2 separate regions of the Homo sapiens genome follow, and region 2 is linked to region 1. Evidence: promoter capture Hi-C in 16 types of primary human blood cells and fetal thymus (Javierre and others, 2016). All regions are on one chromosome and are shown on one strand. Each heading gives the region's core, a stretch centred on a gene start or on the middle of the fragment in contact. The rest is flanking DNA. Distances are from core to core; before and after follow the strand shown.

Region 1 (6,500 bases), core at 4,001-6,500:
TAAATTCTGTTTGTTACTACGTTTAATTAGAAGGTGGAGGAGTCATTTCATGATTAAGAACATTCAACATGTATTGTTCATTAAGCTAGCTTCCTAGTTCCGATTAGACTAAGGAGACTAAGCCTAGAGAGTCAATGTTAGAACAGTGAAAAGAATTCTGTGTGTGTGTGTGTGTGTGTGCACAATAAATAGGAAATGTAGAAACCAAGCAAGAAGGCTTAGTAGCTCAGTCTTTAACAAGGGCTAGAAAAGAATGTAATCTGATATGGAAGGATAGCAGCTTCTAATTTTCAATCATCTGTTGATATACTGTGAAACTTATTTTATTAAATTAATATTTATTAAATGGAAATATGCTTTTCTGGTTTATAACTACTAAAAATATCATAGGGAGGATAAAAGTAAATAAGTGAAAGTTAATGCCAATAGAAAAATTCAAGAGATAATGTACAATGTCAGAAAAGGGATTCTTTATGTGTAAATGGGGATAATACCTATTTCACAAGGTTGTTCTGAGGATTGATACGTTTTGAGTATGTATTTGTACACTATCTGGCACATATGCGCTCAATAAACGTGTTTCTCCTTTTCTTTTGCCCTTCCTAACCCAGGACCTTTCATATATTTTTCATTTAAAATCTACTGTGACCAAGAAGAGAAACTCAGTCGCTAACACTGCAAGGCAGGACATGCCTAAAGATGATGATATGGCACAAGTAGTGATATTATACATGTGCAATGATGAAGTCATCATTTTTGTACGCTTTTGGATGATGATAGTGGACTCCTACTATTACAAAATATTGAAAACATCATCATGAGGGCAATTCTGTTGAACATGGTAGTCTGCAATTTTAAAAAACACTTTGGGTACCCTGGAAGGGACATCTAAGGCTGCCATAAGAAAAATGACTGGCAGCTAAAAATGTTGTAGAAGTTGGAATCCTGATGGAATCATAATGAGTCAGCTAAAGGAATAATGATTCTTGCCGCTGTAAGAATACCACAATGACTAGTCAGGATTTAAATGGGTAGCAAGTTGCAGTAGGGAGAAGGGCAGAAGAGTGGCTTCACACAAAATTACAAAGTCCTATGGAATCCCATTGTTGCCTCTCAGCTGTTCAGTTAAGTCAAAATTACAAATATTTACTTATTTATCTGATCACTGAAAAATATTGAGTGTTAAGGCTTGCTGTGCCAGACACTTGGCTAGGTGTAGGATAAAAGAAATAGGGAGCTTTTGATTACAGTCTAGAAGGTGAGACACATTATACATTTATTTGTGTGGGTATCTGTTAAGTGCGAAGTGTTAAGTGCTATAAAGAAAAAGCATAGGGTAGTAGAAGGGAGTTTAAAAGGAACACTTCCCTGAACAGAAATGGGCTATAAACTGAGACCTTAGGGATGGGTAAGTAACCCAGGCCGAATAAGAAGAGTCTCCCAGGAGGAGGACATGTGTGCGTGAAAATTCTGAGGCAAGGAACTGCAAGAAAGCATATGGGTTGCAGCACGGTGAGCTAAGGGAAAGTGGAACACAGTGAAATGGAAGGTTGCTTTGTTGTACTGTCATATTTCTTTTAGTAGGAGGGAAAGAAGCAGACAATTGATATTTAAGTTTTTTACCCCCAATTTTATTTGTTTTTCCGGCCCGGAAAACTGGATACAGTAATTTTTACTCTAAGAAAACTGGGTCTTTCTCTCACTTGGCCAGGCTTCTTCCAGAAGGAGGATGATATTTCTGGCATCATTGACCTTTCAGCCAAACTAGGTGTTTCCAAGCTAATGAATGAAAAAAAGAATCAAAATATTTATCATTTAATCGGGTTGACTCTAGATAGATTTTGTTGTATTGTTTTGATTGCCTTCTCTTCCAGTCTTGTTTTTCCAATCTATGCTTTATTGTTAAAAAAAAATTCCAACACTTAGGAACAACGCAAACACCCACCTAGATACAGTGTCTAAGGGAAACTTGGTAACGTCGTTTAAAATAGAATAGTCTGAACCAGTAGTTCTTAAATTATGCTTATGGAGCACACTATGTTTTTTTATGCCAGATTTAGGTATTCTGTTATTAAAATCAAATAATAGTAGTGGGTTTTTTTTTAGCATTTTAAAACAAAAAAAGTCAGTTAATTAAGATTTCTTAATCTTAACTCTGTTGCAATAATTTTTTTAAATTTTGCTTTAACACTCTTACTGAAATAAATAAGTAGCAAATACAGTGGAAGACTGGAAGATATCCTATTACCCTTAATTTAGCATACTGTGTTTACCCGTTTTGGGGAAAAGAGTTAGAGATTATGCTATGTGTTTGAAGCATATAATATTGTCATTTGCTGGAAAAAAATTTTAGATTGAACAATCGAATTAAATATATCATGTCATGGTAATCTAGAAGTAGCTCCAAGTTCTCGCCATATATGAACATATGTGATAACGAATGGTGTGGAAAGTTTGGTGTTTCTGCATGATCATGATTCTCTTACTTAAAAAGTTAATACCACTAAGTGGTAAAAAGACAGATAAGGCTAACGTCCACAGGGAAGTCTATTATGGAAAAGAGAAGAGCAAGGTGGGTGGATGAATTAAAAATTAAAATACTACCTCATTCTGAGTATTTTTTAAAATTTAAACCACATTATGCACTTATTCTTGACTTACTACTCTGATCCATTTATTAATAACTGAATGAGATAGCCCTGACATCTTTTCTTCTGTAAATACAAAATCAAATGAATCAGACGTTATTCATAAATTAAAAACATGAGACTATAATACCTAGTGCTTATCACAATAAACATGGAACATGTTTCTGAAAATTGGAAGTCAGAATGATTTGATCATTAAGCCCTAATTTCAGATGGAAATAAAACGTTTATTTCTTACCTACTTCACTTTGTGCTTTGAAATTTACCGCTGTGTTAGCAAAGGTGGAAACAGTATTTTGGCTTCACTTAAGCAGCTCAAATATTTATTTTCATAAGTAAACTGTGTTGATATCAGTAAGTACGTCCTAATTTGGAGCCTACAACAAGCAATTTGAAAATGTTCACAATTTTTTTTTTGCTATTTCTAGCCCAACTAAAAGTGTATGAAAAGATTCTAACTGTGCTGACCAACACAGTAGCTTCTAGCCACATGTGTTTATTTAAATGTTAATCTAAATTAATCACAATTAAGAATTCAGTTCGAAGTCACAGTAGTCACATTTCAAGGGCTCAGCAGCCATACAGAAGAACATTTCCACATCACTGTTGTGTACCATCCAAGAATACAACACAACGCAAATGCTTTATCACTTTGTAATTCTTGCTTCAATACAAAAGGTTCAAATTTTGGCTTAAAATATAGAGAGTTAAGTAAATATAGTTTCATATTTTATCTTACAAACAGGTAGGATTATAGTCTTGAACCCCTATGTCATTTTTGGAGATCAAGACAGTAACTGGCCCACTTAACAAAGATGTTAATACTTTGTGCATTCTGTAACCTCTATTTATATAGTTACACATTCTGGTATCCATAGTTCTATTTAGGTAAACATGAAGATGAACATTGGCACATGTGCCAAAAACCTGAAGGAGAGACATTAGGGAATCTAAGATATTGAATGAGGCTTTCCATATAATTCAACAAAATGGATTACAGCTGATATTTCCAGAGATACTACGGAATAGAGTGTTCAAATTTCTGTGAATTATTCTTGTGGTAAGTGTGGTGACCAACCCATCTCAGTTTGCCTGGGTGTTTCCAGGTATGGAAAGTCCCATTTCCCAGGAAACTCCACAGTCCTGGTCAAACTGGAACGGCTAGTCACCCTAGTGGTAAAACATGGTGCTTCCTGTTTCTTACGTACTTTCCAAAATGGTGGCCCATTGTAGGGACTGATTCATTTTTCTATATTAATAGTTATATAACTACTAATATGGACTCAAGGAAACGTGGCCCAATTTGCCTTTTTAGTCATTCTACTTGAACCTTATGCTCTAGCTATACCGAATTTCTTAGTGTTCCCCAAACATGAATTTTCACACCACTGTCTTTGCTCGGGTCATTTTCTGCCTGGAATGCTTTTTCATCCCACTGAACATACACAGAACTTACTTCTCAAGGTCCAATTCAAACACTTCCGTTGACAAGCCTTTTCCAATACTCTTTTTTCAAATTTCCCTACTCTGCAATAGAATGCTCTTGCTTCCTCTGCTGTACTACCGGCATGTTTTACACACTTTTTTTTTTTTAGACGAAGTTTCGCTCTTGTCACCCAGGCTGGAGTGCAACTGCGCGATCTCCGCCTCTCGGGTTCAAGCGATTCTCCTGCCTCAGCCTCCTGAGTAGCTAGGATTACAGGCACGTGCCACCAAACCTGGCTAATTTTTGTATTTTTAGTAAAGACAAGGTTTTGCCATGTTGGCCAGGCTGGTCTTGAACTCCTGACCTCGGGTGATTTGCCCCCTTTGGCCTCCCAAAGTGCTGGGATTACAGGCATGAGCCACTGCGCCCGGCCACATATAGGCTTTCTTTTCTTTTTCTTTTTTTTTTTTTTTTTTTTTTGAGACAGAGTTTCGCTCTTGTTGCCCAGGCTGGAATGCAGTGGCACGATCTCAGCTCACTGAAACCTCTGCCTCCAGGGTTCAAGCAATTCTCCTGCCTCAGCCTCCCGCGTATCTGGTATTACAGGCACGCGCCACCACGCCCAGCTAATTTTTTTGTATTTTTAATAGAGACGGGGTTTCACCATGCTGGCCAGGATGGCACATATATTCTTAATTATAGCAATTGCTCCCTTGTGCTGGTATTCGCCTTACGTGTTTGCTTTCTTTTCTAGACTACCAGATCAAATGGCTTATTTCTAGTTTCAAACTGTCACATAGGAAATGTTTGTTAAAACTAATGTTTTATAAAATTTAAAGCTTATTTTACATATTATCTCATTAGATCTCTCAAGAATTCTGTGAGCTTGGCAATGTAGATTGCTGTATATGCATTAGGCTGATGAACAAACAGGCTTAGAGATAGTCACTTGCCCGAGGTTAGTTAGCTGTTAAGTGTTGGGATTGAATCCCAGGTCTTCTCTCCACCACTTTCTACTAAAAATCACTGAAGGTTGTCAACCGACAGATAGGATTACTCTGTGTGTTGATAACAAAAGGGTGATCAATAATATCTGAAAAGGAAACTTTGTGTAAAAGTCTTTCCCTTACCTTAAAAACTACGCCACACTGGAGCATTCTTTCATTCCCCCAATTTAATTCTATCTGGCGAGAAACAATAATGGGCTAAACCATTATTGTATCGTAAGTCAAATTGCCAAAACTTCACAGGCTACTAAAAGTTAACCCTTATTGAATGAATTAAGAACCTTAGAAGTTCTGCTGTTAAAAAAAGCACGGTGACTGTCAGGGTTTTTCAGGTGTGGGGGGTGTGAGGGTTTTAAGAGTTGGATTCCTTTGACTTTGTCTCTATTATTATAGGCTTAGAGGTCCCGGGTAACTACCAATCGCTATCCAAAGGGAAAGCACCCTGTTAGAAATTAAGTAAGAAAAATAGTTTATATTCCCGGTCTGCCATTTCGATTCTAAGCTTTATCTTTATTTAGCTCACAGTTAAAGGGGGCATAGAGCCACACCCACCTCACAAACGCCGCAAGGATTGGGAGACCAGAAAAGTAAAAGTGACTTGCAAACCTTTAGCTCTAAGTCCATAAAAAAGACTATCATATGCTCACATTTCTAATCTTTGCTAGTATAATGTAATCTTTATTTTGAAAACAATGTGCCTCCATTCCTAGTAAAGCGAAAGTCACGGCGCTGCGACCCTCCCTTCAGCGCCTCCGGACTCTCACGCGATACTCGGCTTTCACGCTTTAGTCTAGGGCTGCACTGCAGGAGGAAGAGAAGCGCCTGTGGTGACGCACTTATTCCGCGCGATGACGTCACTGCAAGGCGCCGGGGGACACGTTGGCTGCGTTTTCGGCGGGCTTCCCGGGTACAAAAATGGCTGTGGCTAGCGATTTCTACCTGCGCTACTACGTAGGGCACAAGGGCAAGTTTGGGCACGAGTTTCTGGAGTTCGAATTTCGGCCGGACGGTGAGAAGAGGCCCACGGCACGCGGTGCTGGGAAAGGGGAGCGAGACCGAGAGGCCGGGTGGTGTGGAGGGTACAGGCGGCGGAGGCCACTGCTTCCCTCGAAGGAAATAGGAGCTTAAGAATAGAGGAGGCATAAGTTGGTTTTATAAATGAAAGAGAATTAATTGCAATAAATTAAAGCTAATCCTGTCACAAACTGAAAAGTTGAACCTACAGTAATCAGAATTCTGTAACAGTGCACCAGAAGGGACTCTAGATCGTCGCCCTGATTGAAAATGCTAGCACTTTTTTGAAAACACCCCCACCAGCGGGTGGTCCAGTGGATGAATAAAATCTTGTGGTGACCAGTACCTTTTTTTCATTTAGGCTGTGTGTTTTCTTTGAAGGGGAGGAGCCCAACGTGTTAACAA
Region 2 (6,500 bases), core at 2,290-4,789, 2.2 Mb before region 1:
TTCTCACCTACACTGTAGGGCAAGCTGGAAAAGTTAAAATGCATGAACGCTTCTTGCTATTTAAAAGTAACACTGGGCCGCTGATAGTTCTTTCCCACCACTGGCCTTTATACGGTCCTTATCCTCCAAACTTCTCTGCACAAGTTTGAAGTGTTTACTAATCCCTCCTTGAAACAGTTTCCCTTCCCTAATTTGTGTGAAACTATACTCTCATGATTTTCAACCCTCTATTGAATCTTCCAATTTTCCTCTGTCATCTTTGCCAATCTAATCCATTTCCAATCTCAGCTATAACCGCTCTTTGGATACAGTGTGTATATCCAGCTCTGGCCTCTCAATCAAGTTCCAATCCCAGGATTCCAACTGGGTATTTTTTTCCTTTTTTATTGTCCCCCAGTTTTGTTAATTGACAAAAAATTATACTTATGGTATACAATGCAAAGTTTAGATACATGTATACTTTGTGAAGTGATTAAATCAAGCTCATTAACATATCTGTCACCTCACATACTTGTCATTTTTGTGGGGAGACCATTTAAGATCCACTCTCCTAGCAATTTTCAAATACACAAAACATTATTCACTGTAGTCACCATGCTATTCAATAGATCTTCAGAACTTATCCATCCTGGCTAACTGAAACCGTACCCTGAGCAACATTTCCCCATTCCCCTCCCACAAGGTCAACTCTATCTCATTGATATCCAAAATCAATTACTTCCAACTGAACTCATCTTTCCTGCATTTTTCCCCCGTTCCTTTTTTGTATCAGTGGTACACCAATAATATGCCCTAAACATACAGCCTAGAAACTTAGATTTTCCCCACCCCTTCCTTGCCTTCCACTTGCTTAACTGGTTGTAAAATCATAATGATTCTTTTTCCAACATTTTCTTTTTCATTCTACCACCACCCTACCCATTATTGATTGCAAAAATCATTACAAAGACCTACTAATTGGTTTCCCAGACTCAGTCTCTTGTTTCTAATGATCTTTCACAGCTATGAGATTAATCTTCCAAGAGTACAACTCTAAATCCTTCATCTCCAAAAATGCCCCACTGCCTATGAAACGAAGACCAAATTCCTTGACCCAGCACTCAAATCCTTCATAATCCGGCCCCAATCACCTTACTAAACTTTTTCACCACTCTGCTAAGTACTTGCAAATCTCCATACATGCCCATGTTTTCCAGTTGGCTTTTTTTCATGCTGTTCCCTATGCCTAGAAAGTCCTCCCCTCCCATCATATCTGAATGTCTAAATCCTTCTAAAGTCAGTGTTCAAGGTTCAGCTCACATGTCTTCCCAACCTCCCCAGCCAAAAATAAAATGAAATAAATCTTCTCTAATCCATCCTAATTAGAAGTAATCTCTTCTCCCTCAGTGCACTCTGAATGTAACTTTCTTAGGTCCCTGTTCAACTTGTAATAAATTTATAATTATCTCTTTAATAGATTATAGACTCTTGGAGAGGACAGACTGTTAACCTCCAGTGCCTTACATTTACAACAAATAGTAACTATTTATGGAAAGAGCAAATGGAATTTTGTAGAGTAAGTCTAACCCCTTTTCCACATGACAGCTCTTCAAATCATTAAATCTTTCAATTATTATCAATAATAATCACTACATTAATTACTAATGAGTAATAATTATAGCTTACATTAATCACTAATAATATAGTAATACAGTAATAGCTACATTAATACTAACAATAATTAGCCACATTACCCCTCTTATAACAATTGCTATGATTACATTCACTCTCTCTGAGGATCTTAATAGATTTCAGTTAACTAAGACCTCTGGGCCTCTTTTATCACCCACCCTAATCCTGTAAAGTTGGTACTTTAGGAATCTAAGAGCAGGACTTTACTTCTACTCCTATTAAAGTTCATCCTGTTACAGCCAGATGTGGTGGCTCACACCTGTAATCCCAGCACTTTGGGAGGCCAAGGCAGGTAGATCACTTGAGGTCAGGAGTTCGAGACCAGCCTGGCCAACATGCTGAAACCCCATCTCTACTAAAAATACAAAATTAGCCGGACATGGTGATGCGCCTGTAATCCATTACTTGGGAGGCTGAGGCGGGAGAGTTGCTTGAACCTGGAAGGCAGAGGTTGCAGTGAGCCAAGACCGCACCACTGCACTCCAGCCTGGGCGACAGAGCGAAACTCTATCTCAAAAAAAACTCCATCTTAAAAAAAAGATCTCAAAAAGAAAAAAGTTCATCCCATTAGTTTCAGTTCCAGTAGCCATCAATCTGCTTTAACCACTGTTTTACAAATCTGATAAACATGGCTCACAGCAAGAATTCTCAACTCCTCAAGACACACATATGTGTTCCAGGCATCCTTCCCTAAGTGTGCGCCCACTGATGCATAAAGTCTACCAAGATTGTCGTTAATATACTTTAACTTTAACCTAGGGCTTCCTTAAAGTCAGCATCTGTGGCAGAGAACAAACCCTTTCAGCTATTAAGACAGAAAGTAAGCTCAGTAAAATTGGAGAATGACATTTTCAAATACCATTACCCAAACTTTGTACCTTTAGTGACCATATCCTTATTTCACTTGAAGTATGCAAGCAACAGCTTTCAAAAGGGGTATCTAATTGAGATAACTTTATATTAAATCTGTACGAAGTCATACAACCTACCTTGTAAGGCCAAAGGAATAGCTTCAATCTGGATCTTGGTGGGTTTTGTCCATCCCAACTGGTCACAAGCTTCACACAACACATCTGTCACACCCTTGGAATTCAGAAAAATATACCTTAGCCAAGAACAGCACACCCCTACCTCCCTCCTACTTAACTGACTGTCAGACCCATCATGTACAACCATTGTATTTGATTTAAAAGGTATTTACTGTGCATCTCAGAGCCTACTCTTTAACTATACCATGAGACAGTAGCTCAAGACTTAACGAACACTTTCTGCTCACCAAGGCCAAGGCCAGGTGCTTTACATGTATCATCTCATTTAATCGTCACAACAATTCTGCGAGGTAAGTACTTATTACTATCCCCAATTTACAGATGTGGAAAGAGAAACACAGAGAGGTAACAACTTGTCCTCAGTAAGAGACTGTGTCAAAATTCAAATCTGGTTGGTTCATCTGACTCCAAAGCTCCAGTTATAAAGAGACCAATTCCATTCCCCATATGTACAACCTCCTGGATGCACATACAAACGTTGCCACACTAAAGTGGCGAATAGGGCAAATAGGGGGTCTCAGGGCCCAGCAGCCCTCCCACCACCCAAACTCAGAGCACGTCCGAAACCCAGCCCTCTGAAATTCTGGGGAAAACCCAAGCTAGGCCCCAAGATGCTTTTGTACACTATCAGAGCGGGATCTAAGGTACCTGGGGTCTCCCTGAGCCTAGCACCAGAGTACATAAAAGAAGCCAGCGTCATCCATTCTCACCAGGTCTTTAAATGTTTTAGTTTCCTCCTCTTCCACAATCGGCTGGGACGCTTCGGTCGGAGAATCGTGTTCCTCGGGTGCCGCCATCTTGTGTGAGGTCTCCGGAAGTGGGTCTGCGGCGCGCGGGATGCTGGGAAATGTAGTTTTAGTTCTCCCCGGACGACGTGCTCTGCGCGCCCCCTGCGGGCTTGCCGGGGATTGCACCCGTCCGCTAGGCAGGTGGGGCCCAGTGAATATGGGCGCGTAGGCTTGCGGAATAGATCCGAGTGCAGAAGGGGCTGATCACCAGGGACTCCAGTTGACCTTTAGGTCCCTTTTAAAGAGCCTTCCCTACGTGTGTCGCCAGTTATGTTCCCCGCTTTTCTAACCATAGAGTTTGGAACGGATTGATATTACAATACTATTTTTTTATTATGTCATTACTTTATTCAATAATGTTGAGAACCTACCATTTGCTAAGGCTATGCTAGATGGCTGGTGAATAGGACAGCGACCCCTGCCCTCGTGAAGAAAAAGAAGACAGATCATAAATAAGCTATCACAGAGCATTTCAAATTGTGAAAAGTAGCTGGGTGTGCTCACGCCTGTAACCCCAGCACTGTGGGAGGACGAGGCGGGCGGATCACTTGAGCCCAGGAGTTCGAGACCAGCCTGGGCAACGTGGCGAAACCCTGTGTCTGCAAAATGCAAAAATCAGTCAGGCATGCATGGTGGCATGCGCCTGTAATCCCAGCTATTCAGGGGGCTGAGGTTGAGGGATCAGTTGACCCCGGAAGTTGAGGCTGCAGTGAGTGGAGATGGTGCTACTGTACTCCAGCCTGGGCAACAGAGTGAAACCCTGTTCACATAAAAATTACAGAGTAACCTGGGGAGGGTGGGTTGTGGGGATAACTGTGAGATTGGGAAGGCCTCTCTGAGACAGTGATATTTGAGTTAAGACCTCACTGTTGAGCAGGAGAAAACGCTTTAAGATCCCAGGAGATAATCATTCCAGAGTGAGAGAATTCCAAGTACCAAGACTGTGAAGCTACTAAGGCTATTCTGGAAAGCAGCAAATTCAGAGCTGTATGTTGCATGCCCCATGGCCAGCGAGTGCCCTCCTGTGGCCTGTCACTTGGGTCTCACACTGCGCAGGGTGCTCGTTGCAGTTTTATTCCTGAGGATGGGAAGTTGGGGGCAATCTGGTGTCCGTCACTGGGAAAATGCATAGTTAAAATGTGAACATGGTGTCTACAAACATGCCCTTAACAATATGATTAGATCTGAAAAACCTAGTGCTTAGTGAGAAAAGCATAAAATATATCAAGTATATTAAAATATAGGCCCACAGATATCACATTCTGCTAAAACACATCCAACAGAAGATACACTTGAAATATTTTAGAATGGTTGCCTGCAGAGGGAGAAGAATTAGAATAAAACTGGGAATTGGGAATAAAAGAATTAAGTGTATAAGACAATAGGCCGGCCGCGGTGGCTCACACCTGTATCTTAGCACTTTGGGAGGCCAAGGCAGATGGATCACTTGAAGTCAAGAGTTCGAGACCAGCCTGGTCAACATAGTGAAATCCAGTCTCTACTAAAAACACAAAAATTAGCCAGGCATGGTGGCCTGTGCCTGTAATCCCAGCTACTCGGGGGGCTGGGGCAGGAGAATTGCTTGAACCCCGGAGGCGGAGGTTGCAGTGAGCTGAGATCATGCCATTGCACTCCAGCCTGAGTGACAGCGCAAGACTCCGTCTCAAAAAAAAAAAAAAAAGGATAATAAATACACAAAGCAAGAGAGGAGACTTGTGATGCCAGTGTGCTTGACCTGAGAATTGTGAGGAACTCAACTCAATGTGCCTGCCGACCTCCCCACCACCACAACTAAAAAAGGGCCCTGATTTAGGCATCACAGCAGTGTCTCAACAACAAAAAGGGTAGGATGTGGTCAGAGAATTGGGCTCAGCTCAGACTCTGCAGGACCCTGTTGTAAAAGGTCTGGGGTTTTGGATGTTATCCTAAATGCAGAAGGAAGCCACTGGGGGTTTAGAGCAGGGAAGAGACATGATCTACACATTTAAAATATTACTCTAACTCTATATGGAGATAGGCTGTAGAAAGAGTGAGAAAAGGAGACCATCTAAGACAGCGGTCCCCAACCTTTTTGGCACTAAGGACTGGTTTCGTGGAAGACATTTTTTGCACAGAATTGGGGCGGGGATGGTTTCAGGATGATTCAAGCACATTACATTTATTGTGCAGTTTATTTCTATTATTATTACATTGTAATATATAATGAAATAATTGTACAACTTGCCATAATGTGGAATCAGTGATAGCCCTGAGCTTGTTCTCCTGCAACTAGATGGTTCCATGTGGGGGTAATGGGAGACAGTGACAGATCACCAGGCATTAGATTCTCATAAGAACCACGCAACCTAGATCCCTTGCAATAGGGATTGTGCTCCCAAGCGAATCTAATGCCGCAGCTGATTTACCAGGAGGCGGAGCTCAGGTAGTAATGCTTGCTCACCTGCTACTCACCTCCTGCTGTGCAACTCAGCTCCTAACGGGCCACGGACTGGCACCAGTCCATGGCCCAGAGGCTGGGGACCCCTGATCTATGTTGGGAAAAGGGCTTGTGGGGTGCCTGCATAAACGGGCCATAAAAATATGGGACAATAAGTTGTGGCAAGTCACAAAAGGCCTCTGAGGAGGAAAGCCTTCTTATCGCCATTATGTTCCCATGCTCTGAGCGCAACCTGCTCTCTTATCTATAAACACTGTGTTCAAGGAGAAAGACACTCCTTTGAAGCATTGAAATGTGGACAGACGTTCAGGCTCCTAGTTAAGCCCACTCCCACTAGCTACTCTTCGATAAGTTAAAGATATGCTGTTTGAGAACAAAGGAGACTCATTTAAACAGCCATTGCTATAGATTACGCCTATGACATACTGCCTCCCTTTCACTGTTTCACCCTAAACATCTGCTTCTTAGATCTAAGGGATTGTACTCAATAAATAGAGTGAAGACCAGAACTCTGGGCCTTTTGCAGCCTCCATTTTGCAATTGGCCCCCCGGCCC

Evidence for each region. Contacts are between HindIII fragments. The CHiCAGO score rates a contact against its expected background, and 5 or more counts as called.
Region 2: the fragment with the promoter of DDX47 here is called in contact with a fragment that was not itself captured in region 1 in 1 of 17 cell types (fetal thymus); the score reaches 5.6 in fetal thymus.

Annotation. Positions count from the first base shown.
Region 1 is chr12:10,613,029-10,619,528 of GRCh38, reverse strand. MAGOHB (mago homolog B, exon junction complex subunit) reads left to right here and starts at 5,920. Exons shown (of 5, transcript NM_018048.5): 1 at 5,920-6,090. The coding sequence starts at 5,997. STYK1 (serine/threonine/tyrosine kinase 1) reads left to right here. Exons shown (of 11, transcript NM_018423.3): 11 at 1-606. RefSeq lists enhancers at 5,106-5,983, 5,800-6,199, 5,984-6,500. The HindIII fragment of the contact is 670 bases long and covers 4,916-5,585 here.
Region 2 is chr12:12,810,385-12,816,884 of GRCh38, reverse strand. It overlaps DDX47 (DEAD-box helicase 47), which reads right to left and starts at 3,539. Exons shown (of 12, transcript NM_016355.4): 1 at 3,431-3,539; 2 at 2,661-2,754. The coding sequence starts at 3,517. RefSeq lists an enhancer at 3,403-3,712. The HindIII fragment of the contact is 15,992 bases long and covers 2,732-6,500 here.